3 separate regions of the Homo sapiens genome follow, and regions 1 and 2 are each linked to region 3. The links are contacts of gene promoters, found by promoter capture Hi-C in blood cells and fetal thymus (Javierre and others, 2016). All regions are on one chromosome and are shown on one strand. Each heading gives the region's core, a stretch centred on a gene start or on the middle of the fragment in contact. The rest is flanking DNA. Distances are from core to core; before and after follow the strand shown. Region 1 overlaps ALYREF (Aly/REF export factor). Region 2 overlaps SIRT7 (sirtuin 7). Region 3 holds the start of CYBC1 (cytochrome b-245 chaperone 1).

Region 1 (2,700 bases), core at 47-2,546, 560 kb before region 3:
ATCTCGGCTCACTGCAACCTCCACCTCCCTGGTTCAGGCGATTCTCCAGCCTCAGCCTCCCAAGTAGCTGGGATTACAGGCATGCACCACCACACCCAGCTAATTTTGTATTTTTAGTAGAGACGGGGTTTCGCCATGTTGGCCAGGCTGGTCTTGAACTCCTGACCTCAGGTGATCTGCCTGCCCCAGCCTCCCAAAGTGCTGGGATTACAGGCGTGAGCCACCGCGCCCAGCCGCCCCACTCTTAAATGGACGGATTATCACAGCTTCCACCAGCCACTTCATCAAATATACAACTAAGAGAGGATCCTCATGCCTTGCTCCGTGGCAAGGTTAAAAACAACAACAAAAAAACAAACAGAAAAAGGAATTACACTACAAAGTCAAAACTGCTGAATCCACGTTTCTCTGAAAACCAGAGTACAAGAAGGAAAGGAACAGCCCAGAGATGTTCTGGCTGTGGGAAGCCTGTGGACGGCACACAGGGCAGCCATCCCACCCCAACCTCCCCTCACCTGGAGGCACAGGCACAAGGGTCAACAGGTGGCTCCCGGGCAAAGGTGTCCTCCCACCTGGTGAGTTAGAGAGGAAGGTGTTAGGTGTGAGGCAGGAAAGAAGATAAGAAAGAAGACAGGCAGCTTCGGCCCTCCAGGAGCGGGGACCCCCCGCCACCCCCACAACCCATGCCAACTTCAGGTGTCCAACACCAGATGGGGCTGCTCCCTCCATCCCCAACTCAGGTTCTCCCACCCCCTCCCAGCTGGACAGACACCAAAATCCTGGCCCAGGCCTGGACTCCAACAGTGGGACGAATCAAACAGTTCCAGTTCTACACACATTTCTATTTTATTATGGAAAAGGTGGAAACGCCACCTTCTCCACAACAGCAACCAGTAAAATTTATCCCAAAAATAACTCGGTACAAAACAGGTCTGTTTCAGAATTAAAAAAAAAAAAAAAGAAAAAAAAAAAACCTTTACATGAGTTTTTAAATCCTATTTTAAAACATAAAAGAAACAAATCCATCATTGGCCGCACAGCCCCAGCCACCGCCCCCCAACCAGGGAGCAAGAGGAGACGCCTGGGTCCTGTTCCGCACGCGGATTTGCTGGTCTGTTTAACTGGTGTCCATCTGAAACACAGAGGAGAAAGAGGCTTGCATTCACAGGCGGCCTGCTCCCCACTGCGGCTTTGACCAGGCCCCCAGCTGGCTCCCCCGGGACTCACTCTCGCATTATAGGCGTCCAGCTGGGCATCCAGCTCCTCTGCCGAAAGCTGCTGCTTTGAATTCCTGCCGGCACCTCTGCCTCTTCCACGGGCGCCTCCGCGGGTGCCTCTCCGGGTGCCTCCACCACCACCAAAACCTCCAGCGCCACGGTTTCTAGTCATGCCACCTCTGTTTACGCTAGCAAGGAAGACGAAACCGTTCACACACCCGGAAGGACCCTAAGAGCGACGCAGCCTCACCCTCGGCCAATCCCCTTCCCCAGAGGCCCCGGAAGTCACCTCTGTGCAGGCCTCCGCTGTGCGTCAATCTGTGACGTGACAAGCTGAATGTTCATGGGGCGGCCTGCGGCAAAGAATACGAGAAGGCACGTTCTATTGAGAGGCTCTGAAACCCACCCAGCTGGCGCCACACCCTGGTCTCCATGCAAACACTGGAAAGGGCCTCTGTGCGTCTCAAATGCCCCCGACAAGGGAAATGGCCTGGAGATACTGGTGGGAGAACAAAATGGCAAGGAAGCAACCCCACCAACACCTCCTCACTCCTTCTCAGTCCAGACTAGGTGGGCTGCTCGCTGAGGTATCGGGGTGCTCGTGGGTGGAGAGGTGTGGGTGACCTGACGAAGAAGAACCGGTACCTTTGTCTTTACGACTACAGCCCCGCACTCAGAGGTGTACTATGGCGGTTCTGAGAAGGCTTCACAGAAGTGAATCTTCCGGAAGGAGCTGAAGGAGGGGAGGGATGTAGCTTGCTGGATGGGGGTTCACAAGAGGTTGGTCCAGATGTGTGGGGCAGCATGAGAGGTGGCAGATGGAAGAGAGAGACAAAGGGGCAAATGCAAAGTGTCCTCAGCCACAGGGGTACCCCATATTCCTACCTGGACAGGTGCCAGCCCCAAACTCCACAAGCCCCACAGTCAGCGTGGGTCCACCCCCAGACTCACCATCCAGAGGGACGCCGTTGTACTGCTTCATGGCCTTCAGGGCATCTGCCTTCCGCTCAAAGTGCACGTCTGCTGTTCCTAAGCTGCGACCAGAGCGATCATAGTGCACAGCCGCCTTCTTCAGCGTTCCAAATTCAGCAAAGAGTTCCTGGGAGTTGCAGAGAGCAGTTGTCAGAAAAGCAACAAAACTGCGTTCCTTCTGGTGGCCCAGGGACAGGCCCTGGAAGCGTGAGTTGCTTTGGGGGTGGTTCTCTGGGAGGCAGGACAGTGGTTAACGGGAAATGAGGGAAGGGCGGGGCAGGAGGGACAGCAACTTCCAAGAGCACCTGGGTCTGAGGGCTCCTGCCATTGTGGGGACCTGACACGTGTACCACGATGCAGGTAGAGGAAGCTGCAAAGCCCACTAGCAACGGGCACAAAATTAAGCCACTATCCTCTTCAACAAAGGAAAATGTACAACACACCCAAGGGCTGTTCCAAGAAACGGTAAAGGCCAAAATCAAGAGCAAGGGAAGCAGTCCGATATCAGACC
Region 2 (2,799 bases), core at 154-2,653, 540 kb before region 3:
GGGGGCAACCCAGCCTTCACCGTGACACTGGCCATCTGCAAAGTGCCAACTGTTCTTCATCGAGCACGTGATTACGTCACTTTCTTCCTTTTTGTGCGTTTTGTGCAGCCCCTGCCAAACCAGCCCCCTAGGATGGGGGCCGAGCTAAGCGGTGCACCCCGGTCCCCAGGCGGGGCCTCCTCTCTGCTTCTGCACAGCGACTTCCGACTGTGGCTGCCTTCTTCACCAGCACGCAGGGGAGTCGCCAGTGAGAAAATGGGATCCTGCCACCTGCCAAAAAGGGAAAGCGGCATCAGGCGGGCCTGGGAGCCTCTCGCAGTCACACCTGCCCCAGCTCGGGAAAGCTGTCTGCGGTCCCTGCCTTCCCATCCCCTTCCCTCCCGTGTCAACTGCGGCGGGGCTCTGGTTGGCGGCAGCTTCATTGTTACCAAGCTGCAGAACGGATGTGGGAGAGGTCACCTCTTAGGTGGTGACTCAAAGGTCGGCACCCACACTAGCTCGGTCTCCTCAAAACTCCGTGTCCTTGTCCACCACTGAGCGGCGTGCACACACAGGGTGGGGCAGCAGTGGCCCCAGGGCTGCCTCCGTCTCCAGGGATGAGTCACTAGCAACTCTGGGCCCCACCTTCCACTTGTACCGCTGGGGCAGGTGGACCAGACCCTCTCCCCCTTCCCAGCTGACTAGGGAGGCGTGGCCTACAGACGACCCCGTGAAGAAAGCATGTGTCTGACGGAGATGCAGAACCACAGATCATAACTTAAGATACAGATACGCACTGATAAGGAAAATGAGCTAAGTTAATGTAAAAAAAAAATACAGTACACGATAGCCCACATCACAGAACACCACACACATAACATACAAGAAGTGCCAGGCCCAGAAGGTGAAGGGATCCTTAATTTCTTGAACCCTTTGATTAAAAGAAGTTATTGATTTCCCCTATAAGACCCTGAAAATTCACAGAGAAAGAGAGTGTAAACTTTTTACTCAATACATACACCAAGTCTAAATTATCACAAATTCTGTATTAAGGCACAGTTTGTTTAAGCTTTCCCAAAGTACGCCAACTCCCAAAACCAAGCACACAGATTCTGTCTGACCAGAGCTGCCGAGTGCTCGTCCCCTCCAGATGCTTCCCACCAGGCATCTCGGAGAGCTCCACGGGGAGGCCTGGAGCAGGAGCACGCGGGCAGAATCCCTCTCCCCGCGGGGATTGTGTGTGCCACATCAGCCAGGGCAGGAGTGGCACACGCAGGGTCTCCGCCAACCACCGAGGTCAGGCCCTCTGGAGACCACCACGCTTCAGTCATGCCTCAGGCACCACTGCAAACACCTCAGAGCTTCCTCCACACTCAGCTCACGAGAGAAGACAGACAAGGCCCAGCACACAGAGGTGCGGGGAAGCAGGCTGCTGCAGCGGCTCACTCACCTGCTATAGGCGGGGATCTCCAAGCCCAGCTCGGCCATGAGGAGCCGCATGACGTCATCACACTTCCCATGTAGCTTCAGGGCAGCCCAGTCATCCTTCGGGGTCCACTGAGGACAGGGAAAGCCGAGTGAGAGTAACAGCAGCCCAACCCTTCCCGGTGGCCTGTCAGCCTTGGCCCCTACGGGCTCAGTCGGTGCTCCCTGAGCACCCACGGGGGCCCTATCAGACCGCCCTGGTGCATGGGTGTGGGGTGTCTCTGGCTGTGCGTTCTAAGACCCAGATCTAAGGACGTGGCTCTCAGCACCCGAGTTACCTGCAGGTTCACGATGTAAAGCTTCGGCCGCCGGCTAGGGGGCTTGGTCATGCACCAGAGGCGTGGGTACTTCTTTAGAACCTGTGGAAGCAGACAGACAGACACCGCACACACACAAGGGACAAGTCTGTACAGTGCTGGGCCGCAGAGCTGGACACCCTCGGGCGGGCAGGGGCTCGGTTCACTCATTGTGTCATCGGCACGTACCTTCAGGCTGGACCCTAGACACAGGATGGTGTCTGCTCTGCTGGCAGCCTCGGTCGCCGCTTCCCAGTTCAAAGGCTGCCCCAACGTCCCCCTCTCCCCAAAGTGCACAATGGTGTCCCGCAGCTGGGTCCCACACTTGTGGCAGGTCCGGCCTGTCTGGTGTCTGTGGAGGGCAGTGCGCTCCGTCACATCGAACACCCGCACGTACTCCCTGTTGGGAACGCAGGAGGTACAGACCTAGAGGCAAGAGGGCACAGTGAGTGGGACCCGCCTGCCCATGGAGACCCTGGGTCCCTGCAGGACTGCTCACTTCAATGTACATGTTCCCGTGGAGCTCGGAGATGGCCGTGCGCGGCAGCCCACTCCTCAGGTGGAGCCCGTCACAGTTCTGAGACACCACATGCTGCACCTGGAAGGCAGAACGGGTGGCAAGGGGAGGGATGGCTGCCAGTGGTGGTGGGGAGGTCAGTACCCGGCCACAGCGAGGCTGTTCTGAGCCCCGCCGATGGCTCCCAAAACCAGGGGCAGCTCCGTCCCCCCAGAGAGCCTTAGAAAGTAAAACACACAACAGGTCCAACCACCAGGAGTCAAGAGGGCCTGTGGTGGGGAGGGGCTGTCCTTCCTCCAGCCCTGATGCACCTGGAGTGGCTGGGAGGGCAAGAGGTTGCACCGTCCCGGCAAGGTTGGGAAGTGGCTCGGGGTTTGGCAAGGGCCACTCTGCCCCAGATCCATGCTCTCTTGGGTCATGACATTTCAGGTCCCTGGGGACCTAGGCAGATCAACCACTACACCCCATTGGTTGAGGGTGTTCAGCAGAAGGTCCCCAGAGATGTCCTATAAGCCTCCCCTG
Region 3 (2,700 bases), core at 119-2,618:
CCCCAACTAAGTCACCTGCAGCCCCAGACACCATCAGCCAGTCTCACCTGGTCTCTGTGGTTGGGCACGTCACTGGATCCCCCAGAGACCCCGTTTCCTGTGTAAGGAAGGCCCTTTTCCGTTCACAGCGACACCGACTGCGCGGGGGCTGTTTCCCGCTCAGACTCACGAGCTACAGCTGCATCACCACCTGCCCCGTCCTGTCTGGAAACCTTATGTCCTGAGGCCGCTAGCCCCCAGCAGCCTTTAAGCTTCTAGCATCTGTGGGCACCCCCTCTCCCCTGTGCTGGCCTCCACCAAGAAAGGAACTGAAAGTCCCATCATGGCTTCCGGCCGTACTGGCTCTCGCACTGGCATGGACCAACGATCTCAGCTCTCTCTCTGCCCTCCTCCACCTGCTGAAAGTTCAGACTGCACAGTAGAGGGTCCCAAAGCGGCCAGAACCGACGAGTCACCAAAGGGGCTAATCTTCCACAGCGGAGTTCCGCACGGGCGCAGCAGCCCTGCCACTTCACCGTACGCTCCCAACACTGGCCCCAGGGACCCCGTTCTGGTAGTTTCTCAGGGCTTTCCCTGTGAAGTCAAATCAAATTTCTGACATTAAGTAGGGGGTTCAGGCTGGGCGCGGTGGCTCAGGCCTGTAATCTCAGCACTTTGGGAGGACGAGGCGTGCGGATTGTTTGAGTCACGGAGTTCAAGACCAGCCAGGGCAACGTGGCGAAACCCCGTCTCCACAGAAAATACATAAAACAGCCCGGTGTGGTGGTGTACGCCTGTGGTCCTAGTTATTCAGGAGGCTGAGCTGGGAGGATCACCTGAGGCCGGGAGGTGGAGGCTGCAGTGAGCAGAAATCGTGCCACTGGACTCCAGCCTGGGTGACAGAGTGAGACCGTGTCTCAAAAAAATAAAAAATAGTGGGTTCAAATCACACAAACCAATCCTAGATGCTGGTATATGACTGGGCTCCCTCCCGGGCCTCAGTTGCCTCATTGCTCCCGAAACACCCGGCATTCCACATCCAAATGCACACACACACGCACACTCGCGGACACAAGCACACGCGCGCTGGCAAAGCCGCCCGCGCCGCTAGTCGCACCGAGCGCTCGTTTCTTTGTCCGGATCGGGGGCGCTCCCGCCGCCGGGGCCAACCTGCAGCGGAACAGGCGCGAGGCCGCCCGCGACGGGCACGGCGGGACACGGAACAGCCGGCAGGCGGGCCCAGGACGCAGACCCCTCCCGGAGTGGGCCTAAGGGTGCCGGGACGCGCGGCACGGAGCGGGAAGGAAGTGCGGAGCCCACCCAGCCCAGCCGCCTACCGAGAGCACAGCGGTCCCCGCGCCGCAGCAGAGAGACGCGAACCGGCGGGGGCGGGGCCGCGCGCACTTCCGGGATTGGAGCGGAGCCGAGCCGACTTTCGGGGGCGGGGCCGCGCGCGCTTCCGGGATTGGGGGCGGGGCCGCGCGCGCTTACGGGATTGGGGCGGGGCCGCAAGCATTTCCTGGATGGGGCGGAGCCGAGCGGATTTCCGGGATCCGGGCGGAGCCGCAGGAGGAGGCGGGTGGTTCCTGCTAAAGAAGCCAGTTTTCTTGAAAAAAAGAAACGTGCGGGGAAACGTATCCGACAGCAAAGAACTTACCAAGGACTATGAACGTCTTGCTAACATAGAAGCGAAACTGAAGCGGTTCTCATTGCCAAAAAAGAAGATTTGAGCATGAATAAGAACAGGAATTCGAGTGAATTTAAAATCCTCAGATGCTCCAGTCTGTAATTCATAATAATGTATTTTTTAACTCTGTTCACCTTTGGAGGATGCTGGTAAGCTCACCCCAGTTTGTGGCCTGGTTAATAAAAGGAAAGCATCAAGCATTTGTCCTGCCTTTATGAAATTTACAGCAGAGTAACCAAATACTGCATGAGAAGAATTTCTCATTATAGAAGTTTTCCCGCTAATAAATGAAGAAGAAACAGTAGGATTAAAACATCACCCTATGAATTAACGGACCTAGGCAATGTCATCAATGACTGCTAATTAACATCGCAAAAAGGTCAGTTAGATATCAGAAGTACACAACACTATGAAGTAGTCTTGCCAGAAAAAATTTAACCTGAATGTGAACAAGCTTCTAGAGTGAATTACTGGAAATGTGGAAGACAAGACTGTACTAAAGGATTCTACAAGGATACAGTCAGCAATTCGAAACCTCAACCATCTGAATGGACCCTTCCGCTTGGCCAAGAGCATTCCCAAGTTATCCTGAAAAACTAGCTCAGGCAGTGATGGGAAGGGGGAGACAGACATACCTCACTCCCTCCTCCCTTTTGGAATTCAGGCACACAGCTGACCAGCATTCACATTAAAACAGATCTTGAGGTGGCCAGGTGCGGTGGCTCACGCCTGTAATCCCAGCACTTTGGGAGGCCAAGGTGGGCAGATCACGAGGTCAGGAGATTGAGACCATCCTGGCTAACACAGTGAAACCTCATCTCTACTAAAAACACAAAAAAATTAGCTGGGCGTGGTGGCGGGTGCTCATAGTCCCAGCTACTCGGGAGGCTGAGGCAGGAGAATGGCGTGAACCCGGGAGGCAGAGCTTGCAGTGAGCCGAGATCGTGCCACTGCTCTCCAGCCTGGGCAACAGAGTGAGACTCCATCTCAATAAAAAATAACAAAACAAAACAAAAACAGATCTTGAAGTTGAC

What was found. The method cuts DNA at HindIII sites, captures the fragments that hold promoters and counts their contacts. A CHiCAGO score of 5 or more calls a contact.
Region 1: a fragment that was not itself captured here is called in contact with the fragment with the promoter of CYBC1 in region 3 in 1 of 17 cell types (non-activated CD4 T cells); the score reaches 5.1 in non-activated CD4 T cells.
Region 2: a fragment that was not itself captured here is called in contact with the fragment with the promoter of CYBC1 in region 3 in 3 of 17 cell types (naive CD4 T cells, activated CD4 T cells and non-activated CD4 T cells); the score reaches 5.4 in naive CD4 T cells.

What each region holds. Positions count from the first base shown.
Region 1 is chr17:81,887,014-81,889,713 of GRCh38, forward strand. ALYREF (Aly/REF export factor) reads right to left here. Exons shown (of 6, transcript NM_005782.4): 3 at 2,169-2,316; 4 at 1,507-1,570; 5 at 1,228-1,405; 6 at 822-1,132. The coding sequence ends at 1,118. Among named protein-coding and RNA genes, the nearest start is that of ALYREF, 3.2 kb to the right of the region's middle. RefSeq lists an enhancer at 1,392-2,591 and a silencer at 2,395-2,559. The HindIII fragment of the contact is 3,701 bases long and covers 1-2,700 here.
Region 2 is chr17:81,912,345-81,915,143 of GRCh38, forward strand. SIRT7 (sirtuin 7) reads right to left here. Exons shown (of 10, transcript NM_016538.3): 6 at 2,260-2,358; 7 at 1,950-2,186; 8 at 1,743-1,823; 9 at 1,430-1,536; 10 at 1-270. The coding sequence ends at 72. Among named protein-coding and RNA genes, the nearest start is that of PCYT2, 2.3 kb to the left of the region's middle. The HindIII fragment of the contact is 715 bases long and covers 1,047-1,761 here.
Region 3 is chr17:82,449,384-82,452,083 of GRCh38, forward strand. It overlaps CYBC1 (cytochrome b-245 chaperone 1), which reads right to left and starts at 1,369. Exons shown (of 7, transcript NM_001033046.4): 1 at 1,317-1,369. RefSeq lists an enhancer at 180-439 and a silencer at 1,070-1,429. The HindIII fragment of the contact is 1,869 bases long and covers 250-2,118 here.